Linked DNA regions of Homo sapiens: all the other regions are linked to region 1. The links are contacts of gene promoters, found by promoter capture Hi-C in human tissues and cell types (Jung and others, 2019). All regions are on one chromosome and are shown on one strand. The core of a region is centred on a gene start or on the middle of the fragment in contact, and the rest is flanking DNA. Distances in the headings are between cores, read along the strand shown. Region 1 holds the start of IL10RB (interleukin 10 receptor subunit beta). Region 2 overlaps EPCIP-AS1 (EPCIP antisense RNA 1). Region 3 has its middle 14 kb from the start of LINC01690.

Region 1 (4,926 bases), core at 643-3,142:
AGGTTGGCTGTGCTGAGGAGTCTAGATTTTCTTTGAACAGCCGTGAGGAGAAATTTCTGGAGGGGCAGGAGTAAAATGGGGACAGACAAAGGAGCCTTGGATTTGTCTGGTGGCAGAAAGCTATGAGGGGGTAGGGTGGGCACATGGATTTCAGATATATTTCCAGACGTAAAAACAAACTGGAGACTTCCTGATACATTTGATGCATAAAAGCTGAGGTCAATGTCCATTTTGGGCTTAAGCAGCTGGTGCCCCGATTGGAGCTCAGCTGGGGAACTCACGAGTCCCATTTGAGCTGCATTAGGTTGGAGATGCTGGAGAGAGGCTGAAGTAGGAATGTCAGGGAGACAGCCAGATGAATGAGCCCAGAGGTCACACCAAGAAGAGATGTGGGCTAGAGACAGAAATTATTTTCAAACCTTTTAATAGAAAATTCGAAACCTGGCCAGGCATGGTGGCTCGCGCCTGTAATCCCAGCTCTTTGGGAGGCTGAGGAAGGTGAATCACCTGAGGTCAGGAGTTCGAGACCAGCCTGGCCAACATGGCGAAACCCCATCTCCAATAAAAATACAAAAATTAGCCAGGCGTAGTGGCACACACCTGTAATTCCAGCTACTCGGGAGGCTGAGGGAGGAAAATCGCTTGAACCCGGGAGGCGGAGGTGGCAGTGAGGCAAGATCAAGCCACTGCACTCCAGCCTGGGCCACAGCAACAGAGCAAAACCCTGTCTCAAAAAAAAACAAAAAAACAAAAAAACAAACAAACAAAAAAAAAAACGGAAGAAGAAAGAAAGAAAAGAAAATTTGAAACCTACATGCAAGTAGAAAAGTAGAAGACTATAATAAACCACCACCCATCACCCAACTGGTACCAAGAGAGATATAAATGTGCGAGTCATGGGCCTATAGCCCGTGTTTAATGCCAGGGTTTGGCTGAAATCCCCCAAAGGAACAGTGCCAGGGAAGGAGAGAAAAGGCCTTGGGCATCACAATTAGCTACATAGAAACCTGACAGAGCAGGAGGGTCCCAAGCAGAGACAGCCTGACAGGGCGGGAAACCGGAGGGGTATCCCGGAAGGCCAGGGAAGAGTTCATGAGAAAGGAAGGAGGTGACCATGGTGTTATTGGAACCTAGGCAGTCAATTTAGAGGACAGAAAAGGTTTCAATGGATTTAGGTTTAGAAGCCATGGAGCTGGGGCGCTGGGGGACAGAATCCAGATTTCAGGGTGCTCGGGCCTGAACCGGAAGGAGGGGAGGTGCAGCGGGTGATGGGAGGCACATCTGTAGGGAGGGCTGGCACTGAGGGGGCAGACTTGGGGTCAGGGAGGGCTGTCAGGGCACTCGGGGACTGGTGGGGGCCTCCACTTGAACTGATAGTCTCCAGAAGGGTCAGATGACAGCCACGGTGGGATCTTGGGTCTTTTGGGGAAGCTACTTTATTTAGACGCCCGCCAGCAGAGAGCTGCAGGAGGACAGGGAATCAAAAGACGCCGGGAGTCTCCCCCTGAGTTTAGGGCCCAGACGGTCTGTAATCCGGGCGCGGATGGGGCTTTCTCCTGTTACAGAATCGACGGCAGCAGCAGCCTAGTTGCGTCTCAGCAGCCGGCCGTGGCGTTTGCATCTTCTCTCCCGAGGCCCCGAAGGCTCTTAAGTCACTTGCAGGGCGCCCAGGGATGGGATCAGGGGCGGCATCTCGCGGGGCCTCCCGGTTCCCAAGCGCGCCCCCTCCCCGCGGACCCCTCACCTGACACCAGCAGGCAGCCACCCAGCCAGCTCCCAAGGCTCCACGCCATGGACGGACGCTGGGGGTTCCGCGGCTTCCTCCAAGCACACGACCCCCGCCCGCGCCCGGGAGAGCTTGTCCGCGGCGGCTTCCGGGAACCAGCGGAGATGGGCGGGGCGGGGTGGGGAGGGGCCGGGCGACCGGGCTCCCACCCCGCTGCAGGCCCCGCCCACCAGCCCGGGTCCACCCGCGAGGCGCGGGGCACAGGCTTGGCAGATGCACACGAGGAAGAGGAAGGGATCCTCGCAAGCTTTGAAAGGCGCCGTCAAGTCAAATAAATAAATGCCCTACAACACCAACCCAGGACTGAGATCTGCATGCTGGAATGACGGTGGTGGTGGTGGCTTTCAGTATTCCCCAGGTTTTGTCCGGAGCACCGGCACGCCCTCTCTTGAAGTCCGCTCTCCGCACAGGTGAGTTAAAAGCACTTCAGCAGCAAATCCAGTTTGAGGGTCTTCTTTACCCTTCTCCCCAGGGATAAACAACACAAAACCAAGTCATCTTTACGCAAATAACTAGTTTCTTTCAGAGACTACTAAGAAAGCGTTAATTTCCTCTTTTTAACTTGATTAGTGGTTAGACGGGAAGATCCGGAGCTGTCCAGTGTCTTGGGTAATGCACGGCATCGCCTGATGTCTGACGCTAGAACACCACGTAAAGTCAAGCAGAGGGAAGTGAATGCGCCCTAGGCCCCTGCAGGCCACCAAGAAGAGCTAGAGGGAGTTGGTGCAATCCTAGAGATGCCGGCAGGTGCACCAATCTGTGGCACACGTACGCTCTCCAATGGAAGACAACTCAAGACCACACCAAGTTTGTATTAAAAAAGTACTGTTGTGTTACTTTTTACCAACCTCCAATCATTATACAAAATGTTAAAAAATACACAAACACACACACACACTCACAGCCATAGAGGTTATCGCAAAAGATCAACCCAGAATCTTTCAGAATATGACAGATGCACTGAGAAGGCAGATAAATTGATTCAATATACAAAAGGCCTCTTTCCTATGGAATTTCATTAGATTAAATAAGGTGTTCCCTCCTCACAGCCTCATCCTTATGAGCAATCATATAAATAATCTATTTAAAGTCCTTGAACTATAACTTGTATAATTTTTAGTTTTCCCCCTTTGAAGGGGCCTAAGAGAAAGGTTTGAGAAACCAGCTCTTGAGGGGGGCAGGGGTGAGGGGTAAGAGGTCCTGTGCCTTTCATTCATCCTGGGAGCTTCTCAGGATTGCAGCATTTCCACCTGAGTGTTCATTCTTGTACATTTTCTCATCTTTCTCCTGGGTTCCTAGGATCTTGGAGATTACCTAGTCCAATCCTTTTACTTCAGAAACAAAAAACCTGAGGCTCAGAAAGGCTAAGTCAAATGCCTAGGGTCACACAGGGAAACTGTGGGAGTTGGATCCCTGAGTCCCAGTCCTTAAACTGGTTGCTACATGACATTCTAGAACCTCTCCCCACCAACTCCCTTTTTAAAGACAGGGTCTGGTTCTGTCACCCAGGCTGAAGTGCAGTGACATGATCTTGGCTCACTGCAACCTCCGCTTCCTGGGCTCAAGCCATTCTCCCACCTCAGCCTCCCAAGTAGCTGGGACAACAGGCACATGCCACTACGCCCAGTTAATTTTTCTAATTTTGTTTTGTAGAGACAGATTTGCCATGTTGCCCAGGCTGGTCTCGAATTACTGGCCTCAAGCGATACGCCTGTTTAGGCATCCCAAAGTGCTGGGGTTACCGGCAGGAGCAATTGCTCCGGGCCAGACTTCCCTTCCCCCGCCCACACCCCCCCAACCCGGCCTAGATCCACAGGCACTGTAATCACAGCTGACACACTCGACTCGGAATCAGCATAGAGAGCACTCTGAAAATTGTCAAATAGGGTCCCTGAAACTTGTATACCATACTTCTCCTGAAGATCTTGAAGCATCTTTGTGTTTGCTTTTTTTTTTTTTAACTTAAAATATGGCATTCAGGTTTTATCCCTCTCCCCGACGCCATGTTTCCTTTCTGTATTAGTCACACACGTGATCCTAAAGTCTGTCTTCCCCACTTTAACTGGGGAGGGCTGGACAAGGTGGAATTCCAATTGCAGGAGACAGGATGTGACATGGGTGAGGTGCCCAAGGCTCACCGACTGAAACTTCGATGGCTCTTCCCTGTTTCCTTGTGCAGGGCCCCCCTTCTCTCCACTGCTCACCTGGCTCTCCTCCTCCCTTCCTGCCTGCTTTGCAGCTCTTGCTACTATTTTCCTTTTCTTTCCCTGCTCCCACCCTGGCCCAATTTATTTCACAGAAATATCACAGGGCCAGCCAGGCACAGCGGCTCACCCCTGTAATCCCAGCACTTTACGAGGCTGAGGAGGGCAGATCACTTGAGGTCAGGAGTTTGAGACCAGCCTGGCCAACATGGTAAAATCCTGTCTCTACTAAAAATACAAAAATTTGCTAGGCATGGTGGCAGGCGCCTGTAATCCCAGCTACTTGCGAGGGAGGCTGAGGCAGGAGAATCACTTGAACCTGGGAGGCGGATGTTGCAGTGAGCCAAGATCACACCATTGCGCTCCAGCTTGGGCGACAGAACGAGACTCTGTCTCAAAAAAAAAAAAAAAAAAGAACGAAAGAAGAGAAATATCATAGGGTCCTGGACCACCTCTGAAACTGTGGGGAACCCTGCTCCCTGGTAGACATGATGCAGAAACATCCTAAGTGCATTAGTGTAAAGGAAAGGTGCACATGTGCTTCCTTCAAAGTGCACCACTTTGAATATGTAAACAATGCACTGAATGATACTATGGTCCCCATACTGGGAATGTGCATAGGTGATGTCACCTGGAAGAAAGGAACACCACAGTTTCCTCCTCCTTCCCTTGGAGAACACTTGCAGACGATAAGGCAGCAAGTTAGGATGCAGAGACAAAGAACCCTGTAGGTGCTTGTCTGTCCAAGTTCATTCAATAGTTTTGGAGTCATCTCATTATATAACCATCCCCAAGGTCAACATCTGACTCAGAAGTGTCACTTTGATCAGATGGAGCATCTTCGGACCACAGGCCCTCTGAAGAGGGGCTGGGAAAGGTTGGCTGTGTCCCTTCCCCGCTGGCCAGCAAATGGTTTGATTGCACATTATCAGGATC
Region 2 (4,926 bases), core at 1,713-4,212, 490 kb after region 1:
ATACCACGGCAGTACGTGACAGGGGAAGAGAGTACAAGAGAGCAAGACAGAAAGGGGGCTGGACTCATGCATTTTATGAGGAAGCCAATCCCAAGATAACTAACCCACTAATCCAGCGACCACCACATGAATCCATTCATGAGGGCAGACCCTTCATGACCTAATGTCTTAATGTCTCACCTCTCAACATTGTTACATTGGGAATTAAGTTTCCAACACATGAATTTTGGGGGATACATTCAAACCGTGGCACCCATGAGTTGACATTCTACTTTAAGTTACTGCAGAACTGCCTTCATCAAAGTAAGGTCTAAATCAATCTAAAAAATTATTACATTATTTCTTCAGCCTTTTTCCAGAATAGAATTATTGAGATGTCCAGAGTTATAGTTTTTTTAAAAAAAGGAAAATCCTAGATCAGGGACTCCTAGGCTGTTATATTTCACCTACCAGATAAAATTTTTTAAAGATAAAATAAAAAATTGAGGAGGGCCTATAGCTTTTACTACATTTCAGTTTTCCAAGTAAGGGTATGAAGATAAACTCACAGACTACCATATATTAGCATCATTGTTTATAGAAATAAAGAAATTTTCTCATCTTAACATGAAAGAGAAAAAAAGGCACATAATTTCAGAATAAAGGACTATTTCTTCCAAGAAAGGACATCTGGTTACTCTATACACACAGACTGTCCTTCCTCTTTTATTTTGGCAGCTGAGTAGGGAAAACTTTTCACAAGTTCACAGACCTGAATTTGGTAGTCATTGTTCCAGACTGCATGGTTTAGGACTGAGTTGGCAAACCAAACTGCTTATTGCCTATTTTGTCTGAATCTGTGTGTCAATTAATCCATGTAAAGTCACAATTTCATGGGAAAAATACTAACCAGAATTATTGCTTGGAAAGATGACTTTTTTTAAAGGAACAATTTATTGATTGAAACAAAATGGTTGATGTATTAGTTCTTTGTCTTCCCAGGATACTAAAAGCATTGCAATATTAAATGGTGATGACATACTATATCAACAAACAAATTAGTATATTTGATACTCAAAGTACAGAAGTACTTTATCAAGTAATTAGTTTCTGATAATATACCAGCTGACAGGCAGTTAAGGTAGCTATTCAATTTCAGGAATTTAATTTCCACAATCTCTATAACTTCTGATAGAAGAACCTTTGGCTTGCTTGGGCAGTAAGATAACTTTTAAATGTTTAACTTTGCTCTTTAACTATATAAATAGGTAGACTGGCAAAGTTATAAATAAATCTGTTGTATCTGAATACAACCATGCACTGCATAATGATGTTTTGATCAATGATGGACTGCATATATGGTGGTGGTCCCATAAGATTGCAATGCGGCCAGGCGCCGTGGCTCATGCCAGTAATCTCAGCACTTTGGGAGGGTGAGGCAGGCGGATGACCTGAGGTCAGGAGTTCGAGACCAGCTTGGCCAAATGGTGAAAGCTCGTCTCTACTAAAAATTCCAAAAATAGTCATGTGTGGTGGCACGTGCCTGTAATCCCAGCTCCTCAGGAGGCTGAGGCACAAGAATCGCTTGAACTTGGAGGCAGAGATTGCACCACTGCACTCTAGCCTGGGCAACAGAGCTACACTCTGTTTCAAAAAAAAAAAAAAAAAAAGATTGCAATGGAGCTGAAAAATTCCTATCATCTAGTGACATCATAGCAATCATAATACTGTAGCACAATACATTACTCATGTGTGTGGTGATGCTGGTATTAAGAAACCTCTGTTTCAGTGGTATAAAAGTATAGCACATACAATTACATATACCACATAAAACTCCATAATGATAATAAATGACTATGTTACTGGTTTATGTATTTGCTATACCAGTAGTCCCCAACCTTTTTGACACCAGGGACTGGTTTCATAGAAGACAATTTTTCCATGAACTAGGGGGTGGAGGATGGTTTGAGGATGATTCAAATGCATTACATTTACTGTGTACTTTATTTCTATTACAATTACATTGTAATATATAATGAAATAATTATACAATTCACCATAATGTAGAATCAGTTGGAGCCCTCAGCTTGTTTTCCTGCAACCAGATGGTCCCATCTGGGGGTGATGGGAGACAGTGACAGGTCATCAGGCATTAGATTCTCATAAGGAGTGCACAAGCTAGATCCCTCATGTGCAGAGTTCACAATAGGGTTCGTGTTCCTGTAAGAATCCAATGCTGCTGCAGATCTGACAGGAGACAGAGCTCAGGTGGTAATGCGAGTGATGCAGAGTGGCTGCAAATACAGATGAAGCTTTGTTTGCTCACCCGCCGCTCACCTCCTCTTGTGCAGCTCGGTTCCTAACAGGCCACTGACTGGTACCAGTCTGTGGCCTGGAGGTTGGGGACCCCTGCTTTATCTTATTTCTCGCATATTTAGTGAGGCCTCATCAGTTGTTAAGGCCCAGCTATTTATCTTCCCCCCAAATGTATATATTGAAACACTAATCCCCAGTGTGATAGCAGAGGAGGTAGAGATGCTGGAATGTGACTAGGTCACAAAGGTGGAGCCCTTATGAATGGGATTAGTGCCCTGGTAAGAAGCTGAAGAAACCACAGTTGTCTCCCTTCCACCATGTGAGGACTCAGCTAGAAGGTACCATCTATGAACCAGGAAGCAGACCCTCACCGGAACACAAATCTGCCAGTGCCTTAACCTTGGATTTCCCAGCATCCAGAGCTGTGAGAAATAAATTTGTTGTTTATAAGTCACCCAATTAATGGTATTTTGTTGTAGCAGCCCAAATGGACTAAGACATCAGCTAATGTATATAGAATATTTTTTACATATTTATTGGCTTTGTGGCTTCTAACATTTTAAAAATAAACTTAAAAAAAGAGAGAGAACAATGTCTACCTTTGGCCACTTGCCTCCTGCAGGGGTGGGAGGTGGTTGGGGACGCCTATACTATACTTTTTACTGTTATTTTAGAGCGCACTCTTTTTACTTACAAAAAAAAAAGTTAAGTATATAAGAGCCTCAGGCAGGTCCTTCAGGAGGTATTCCAGAAAAAGATATTGTTTTTATAGGACATGATAGCTCCATGTTTGTTATTTTTCCTGAAGACCTTCCAGTGGGACAAGATGTGGAAGTGGAAGACAGTGACACTGATAATCCTGACCTTGCGTAGGCCTAGGCTGATGTGTGTGTTTGTGTCTTAGCTTTAAAGTTTAAAAAGTAAAACAAAATAATTAAAATGGTAAAAATAGAAGATATTTTTGTGCAGCTGTAAATGTGTATTTTTTTAAGCAAAGTGTTATGCCGGGCACGATGGCTCACGCCTGTAATCCCAATACTTTGGGAGGCTGAGGCAGGTGGACGACCTGAGGTCGGGAGTTTGCGACTGCCTTGACCAACATGGAGAAACCTTGTCTTTACTAAAAATACAAAATTAGTTGGGCGTGGTGGTGCATGCCTGTAATCCCGGCTACTCAGGAGGCTGAGGCAGGAGAACTTCTTGAACCCTGGATGCAGAGGTTGCGGTGAGCTGAGGTTGCACTACTGCACTCCAGCCTGGGCAACAAGAGCAAAACTCTGTCTCAAAAAAAAAAAAAAAAAAGTCAAGAAGTTTTAAAAAATGTCTGGGCACGTTGGCTCATGCCTGCAATCCCAGAACTTTGGGAGGCCGAGGTGGGCAGATTACTTGAGGTCAGGAGTTCAAGACCAGCCTGGCCAACACAGGAGCTTGTGGGGTGTGCGGATCATCTCTACTAAAAATACAAACATTAACTGGGCATGGTGGTGCACGCTTATAATCCCAGCTACTTGGGAAGCTGAGGTGGGAGGATTGCTTGAACCTGGGAGGCAGAGGTTGCAGTGAGCTGAGATCACGCCACTGCACTCCAGCCTGGGGATAGAGTGAGACTCTGTCTCATTGCTTGAACCTGGGAGGTGGAGGTTGCAGTGAGCTGAGATCGCGCCACTGCACTCCAGACTGGGTGACAGAGTGAGACTCCATCTCAAAAAACAAAAACAAAACAAAACAATAACAACAAAAAAGTTTTAAAAAATAAGAAAGCTTATAAAGTAAAAAAGTTATAGTAAGCTATTTATTATTGAAGAAAGAAATATGTTTAAACATTTAGTGTAGCCTAAGTGTACAGTTGTTTATAAAATCTACAGCAGTGTACAGTAATAACCTAGGCCTTCATATTCACTTACCACTCACTCACTGACTCACCCAGAGCAACCTCCAGTCCTGTAAGCTCCATTCCTGGTAAGTGTCCTATACAGGTGCACCATTTTTAAAGCTTTTATGCTGTATTTTTACTGTATCTTTTCTATGTTTAGATACAGATACCATTGTGTTACAAGTGCTACAGTATTCAGTACAGTAACATGCCGTATAGGTTTGTAGCCTAGAAGCAATAAGCTATGCCATACAGCCTAGGTATGTAGTAGGCTACACCACTAGGTTTGTGTAAGTATGTGATGAAATTGCCTAATGGCATATTTCTCAGAATGTATCCCCGTCAAGTGACAAGTGATTGTATTGTGGCTTACTTTAAAATGAGAGGTACTCTTCCCTCTATCCATATCCAATCACCACTTTTACACTGGGAGAAATTTTTGAAATTTCAGGCCACCATAATAACATATTTGGCTTCTGGACCTTGTCTTTGCTACCTCTACCCTAATTATTTTACTGCAAATCTTTCTCTTGGCTCAGGTGTCTGGAGGCTGATCAGGCACAATTTGAATCTTCTATGATTAGAAAAGGGAGTTCAATTTCACTAGTGAAACACTGTTGGAATCAGAACTTACACCAATGCTGAACAGCCAGAATATAAGAACTGAGAGTAACATAAGTAGAATGGAAGCCAGATGTTATTAACCCTTCCTATTAACTAGAAGAAAATGTTAATGTTATAGAGGATGCTCTTAGCTC
Region 3 (4,926 bases), core at 1,263-3,762, 290 kb after region 1:
AGCTCATATGATCCACCCAGCTATCCAATCAGGTAGACTCTTTTATTAGCACATGATGGACAAGGAAACAAAGGTCTCAGAGAAGTGGCTTGTTCAAGTCACATAGCTATTAGGAGACAGGAGTTGGAATGTGAACCCAGATGTGCTGGAATACACTGATGAACTCATGCCCCAGCTGGGAAGATAGCATGGAAACACGTTAGTATACAATGGGCTGAGTGCGCCAGAGAAGTATGTACAGGGTGCTCTTCAAGGCTAGGGGAAGGAGCAGCTGATTTTGCTGGAGAGGGAGATAGGAAGAGACTGGATATTGGGGATATGGTGATGAGTGGGAAGTTTCTCTCTTTCAGCCTTCAGCCTTCCCCTTCCCCAAGGACATAGCTTTGGGGCTAGATGACTTCCCAGCCTGATGTGCAAGTCAGATTCATGAGTGTTCCAACATGGTTTGGAGAAATTCCACTTGAAATTCCAGTCTTGGTCGTCTCTGTGACTATCAGCGAGGTGCCCTGTTCTCAATCGGCCATTGACACTGGTGGGTCCTCTCTGGAGATGGACAAGCTGTTTACCAGCCTGCAGGCCCCTCACTCACACAATTCCTTACTCTAAATGAAGGGACCACTCTGGCAAATTGCCACGTCTTTCTCTAGTTCACCCTTCTTAGTTACTTGACCTTTCCACCCTTCCACTAACCCCCTGGTTTGGCTAGAAAGCAGCAGCTCCCCAGAAGGGCTGAAGGACTCCAGCCTGACCCCAGCCTGCCCCCATGGGGGTCACCATCAATGGCACAGTCCAGCAGCAAGCAAGACTGAGGCGACTCACAGCCACAAACAAGTCAGCAATGAACTGGTTCAGTCACAGGAACTCAAAGGATACCTGCTTCCGGGTGGTTTTTGTTTTGCTTTGTTTTTTGAGACAGAGTCTCACTCTGTTACCCAGGTGGGAGTGCAGTGGCGAGACTATGGCTTACTGCAGCCTTGACTTCCCGGGCTCAAGTGATTCTCCCACCTCCCAGCCTCCTGAGGAGCTGGGACTACAGGCATACACCAGCATGCCTGGCTAATTTTTTATTTTTATTTTTTAGAGAAACAGAGTCTCACTTTGTTGCCCAGGCTCATCTTGAACCCCATGGGCTCAAGCAATCCACCCTCTTCAGCCTCTCAAAGTGCTGAGATTACAGGTATGAGCCACCGCACCTGCTGCCCTCTCTTCGGGTTTGGTACTAAATAAAAATATCCCTCCCTTACTTTTCTGATGGCTCTGGGTGCATTTTCTGGCTCTTTTTCTTCTCTTCTTTGTGGGTGGTGGTGATGGGAGGTAAGAGCAGATCCAAGCTAACATTTGCACTTCCTGGTTTGTATTTTTCCAATATCAATATGGGGCCTTAACATACAAATCTACCTGTTCTTGTTTTTCAGGCACTCATAGCTATAAACACCAAGTACACTCTTCCTGATATGGTGGGGCTGAGAAAGGAAGGGATGCCCATTCAGTTGGAGTGGATTTACTTCCCAAAGAGCAAGGTTTCCATGACACCAATAGTTTTCTTTGGATCTTTGATTGTATACTCCAAGTGGTCTATGAACGTGCCACATTTGACTCAAACATCCATCCCATAGACTCTCATAGTATGTCTACGCTGTGCAAACCGTGTGTTACAGAAATCCTAAGGCATCACTTATATGAAATGTTGAAGGAACTGTATTTGAACAGAGCTGGTCACAAAGAATTAGATATTCAGGGCTTTCTTCATTTATCCATGCCATCTGCAAAGTGCATTGACAGACAACTTACCCATTTCCATGTTTGCATAGTATTTTCCAGAAAACAGAACCAAGCCGAAGGCAAAATTCACAAAAGGAACGAGAGACTCTTGCCCCTGTTATTTTACTTTTACTCCTTTTTTCACTCTTTCCCTATTCAAGATAGCTTGAGACAGAGAGGAAAAGCAGAAGAACAACTGTGAAATAATTGGACATCTTTGCAAGAGGTCAGAGAGAGTCAAATCTTTGCTGCTCAAAATCAGTGCTTTAGGCATTGATAACACAAGTAAGCATTTGTTTCTCTTAGGCTCACTCTTCTAACAAAGTTTAGAGCTTTGTGAGTGTGTGAATGTATTTATGAAATGAAAACTAAGTTATCTGACTCTGGTGTGCTGATGTTATTCTAGTTGTTTCAGAACTGATTTCTTTGTTCTCAGTGTTGAAGCTTAGCATGCTCACAGATATTCAATATACAAAGGCATTTAACACAACTGAGAAAGAATTTAATTTGGCTTGTTTTTTTTCTGCTTTATTTTCCTTTCTGTTGTATCCTAAGCATTATTAAGTAATCAATGAATTGTATAGCTACTTATAATAATTCTCCAATGGGCATATAGTTTAATCTCAACCCATTGAGACTGAAGAAATAAAAATACAGGAAAACCCTATAACTCAATGCCTGATGAGCCTGTGGGGAAAGCAGATATATCATTCTTTGAAAACTGGTACAATGCCTTTTGAGGGCATTTGGCAATCAATGCGGGTCAAAGGTCATAAAAATGTTAGTACTCTTTGACCCTGTAATCTCATTCTTTGGAATTTATTTCAAGAAAGCAATTTAAAAGGAGAAATGGTGTATGCATTGATATATTTATAGCAGTGTTATTTGTGGGAGTGAAAAGCTGAAAATAACCAAAGTCTTAGCAAAGGGCAACAGATAACAAATTATGGAACATTGGTGTAATGGGATATTATCTATTTACTAAAAATGATAAAGATGATATATAATTAGGGCTGTGAGGAAAAACATAGCATATCTACAGGACTGTCAAAATGATGTGAAAACAGGACATACATAAATAAAACTCCAAAGTGATGATTTCTTATGATGAAGAAATGAAAACAATTGTAATATAGGATAGTATGAATCTGGGAAAAAATGTATTTACATTGAAAATGGCATATTTTAACTTTCATTTAACAACAAAGAATAGTTCTAACTTGGGAGAGAGCTTCTAAGGCACTACTCCAGTTATCAAGCAATTCCACTACCTCATTTATTCATCTCTTGTTATCTTTTCTTAATCTTTATATCTTGCCGAGTAACTTGGGTTACTCATTTCAAATTAAACAATTCTTTTAATAAAGAGACTCCAATCAGAAAAAAATAGGAGCAAGCTACATGTAAAAATAGCTCCCCTAAATACTGAAAGGCCATAAACCTAGGTACAGAGGGTGAAAAGCCACCGCCCACCAGTCCCACCTCCTCTCCCGCCCATCCTGTGAGCCTGACAAATACGACTCTTTGGACTGTGTGCTTTTCACCCAGGAGAGGAGCTGTACATCTTCGTTTTTTTAATATTCCCAAACAAGCTTTCTTGGAGAGCAAGAAGAACCAGCCACCAAATTTTTTTTTTAAAAGCAAAATATTATTCTCGATTTCTTCCTCTACATGTAGAATGGAGAATCTGTTTAGAGTCTGCGTGTGAAGGACACCCACTGCTTTCAAAATTAATATCTGAGTTGTTCCCAGAAGACAGGACTGGGCCTTGAATGTTGCAGTGGAGGCCACTGAACAGCATTATGTCATAGACAATGGTGGGGTTGTGTAGAGAAAGAAAAGGCTTTGCATGTTGGTGGGATACTGCTTCTTGCTCCCAAACTGGTCGCCCACCCTAATCCTTTCCGCTCTGTGCAAGGAACCATTTGGCTCCTGGATTCAGGGCCCGTTCTCCAAGGGTTCTGCATCAATCGTGCATTCCGTTTGCCCCACACTGGCTAATTGGGCCCAGCCCACCAGCTGCTATGGAGCTGTTTGTGTGAATGCCCTCAAAGTCGGGGCCCAGATATATGCGGGGGTGGGGGTGGGGGGCGGGGGGGAGAGGGGGAGGCGGGAAGATGCTACTGGGAGCTATTTCTTTTTTTTTTTTTTTTTTTTTTTGAGACGGGGTTTCGCTCTTGTTGCCCAGACTGGAGTGCAATGGCGCGATCTCAGCTCACTGCAACCTCTGCCTCCCAGGTTCAAGCAATTCTCCTGCCTCAGCTCCCTGAGTAGCTGGGATTACAGGCAACTGCCACCACCCCCAGCTAATTTTTGTATTTGGAGTAGAGACGGAGTTTCACCATGTTGGTCAGGCTGGTCTCAAACTCCTGGTGATCCACCCACCTCAGCTTCGCAAAGTGCTGGGATTACAGGCGTGAGCCACCTCGCCCAGCCTGGGAGCTTCTAACAGTGCACTCCCAACTAGCCTATCTACAGAAGAAAACTTACAAAAATGTGTTCCACTAAATAGGGCAGCCCACTCCCGTTTGGTCAGGGTGAATATTTACATGGACTTTTCAGGAATCCCAAAAGAATACTATTATCTGGTGTAATAAAGCAAAAGGGTCTAAATACGTTTTAGTATTTGATTACATTTCTAAATACGTTTATTTCATATGGTACCAAAGTTTGTTTTAAAATGAACAATTTTAGGTAAAGAATACTTTTTAAAGTTTATACATGTCCCTGCTTTCTTAATCAGAGTCTTATAAACACAAGTTCAACTTTTCCTGGTGACTTTTCATTAGAATTCTAAACATATTTGCTCTTATGTGAATATCCCCAACTTTTGTTTTATGGAATAGTTTTCTTTTTCTCGATTTTACACTCCTGTCTCTCATTATCAACTATCCCTTCTTGTGGTACCAGGCCTACCTTCTTGTGTTTTCAGAAGACAAACTATACCTTTATTTACTCAAATTCGGCAACATTTATTGTGCCATAAATCAAGGCCTTAGGTAAACTGTGAGATTGCAGCATGAACAGAACACACTTAAGTTTAATATTCACTTAAATCCCCATGGATGCATTGGTTGGGGGTCCTGACTGGACCACATAACTCAGATCTTTGCAGGCCATGAAAATCACCAAGCAAAACTTATTCTGTACCACCAGCCTGACCCA

The links. The method cuts DNA at HindIII sites, captures the fragments that hold promoters and counts their contacts. A contact is called where the count stands out against the background at its distance.
Region 2: a fragment that was not itself captured here is called in contact with the fragment with the promoter of IL10RB in region 1 in 1 of the 25 tissues and cell types used here (dorsolateral prefrontal cortex).
Region 3: a contact is called between a fragment that was not itself captured here and the fragment with the promoter of IL10RB in region 1, in 2 of the 25 tissues and cell types used here (IMR-90 fibroblasts and lymphoblastoid cells).

What each region holds. Positions count from the first base shown.
Region 1 is chr21:33,263,333-33,268,258 of GRCh38, reverse strand. IL10RB (interleukin 10 receptor subunit beta) reads right to left here and starts at 1,892. Exons shown (of 7, transcript NM_000628.5): 1 at 1,745-1,892. The coding sequence starts at 1,793. The region is part of intron 7 of IFNAR2-IL10RB (IFNAR2-IL10RB readthrough); the gene reads right to left. IFNAR2 (interferon alpha and beta receptor subunit 2) reads right to left here. Exons shown (of 9, transcript NM_001289125.3): 9 at 2,595-4,926. The coding sequence ends at 4,759. IL10RB-DT (IL10RB divergent transcript) reads left to right here and starts at 1,999. Exons shown (of 2, transcript NR_038974.1): 1 at 1,999-2,196; 2 at 2,357-2,627. RefSeq lists a silencer at 1,637-2,046 and enhancers at 2,217-2,286, 2,317-2,376. The HindIII fragment of the contact is 10,877 bases long and covers 1-3,814 here.
Region 2 is chr21:32,774,286-32,779,211 of GRCh38, reverse strand. All of the region lies in intron 1 of EPCIP-AS1 (EPCIP antisense RNA 1), which reads right to left. Among named protein-coding and RNA genes, the nearest start is that of EPCIP-AS1, 4.6 kb to the right of the region's middle. The HindIII fragment of the contact is 6,384 bases long and covers 1-4,926 here.
Region 3 is chr21:32,970,091-32,975,016 of GRCh38, reverse strand. No RefSeq gene overlaps it. Among named protein-coding and RNA genes, the nearest start is that of LINC01690, 14 kb to the right of the region's middle. The HindIII fragment of the contact is 4,875 bases long and covers 75-4,926 here.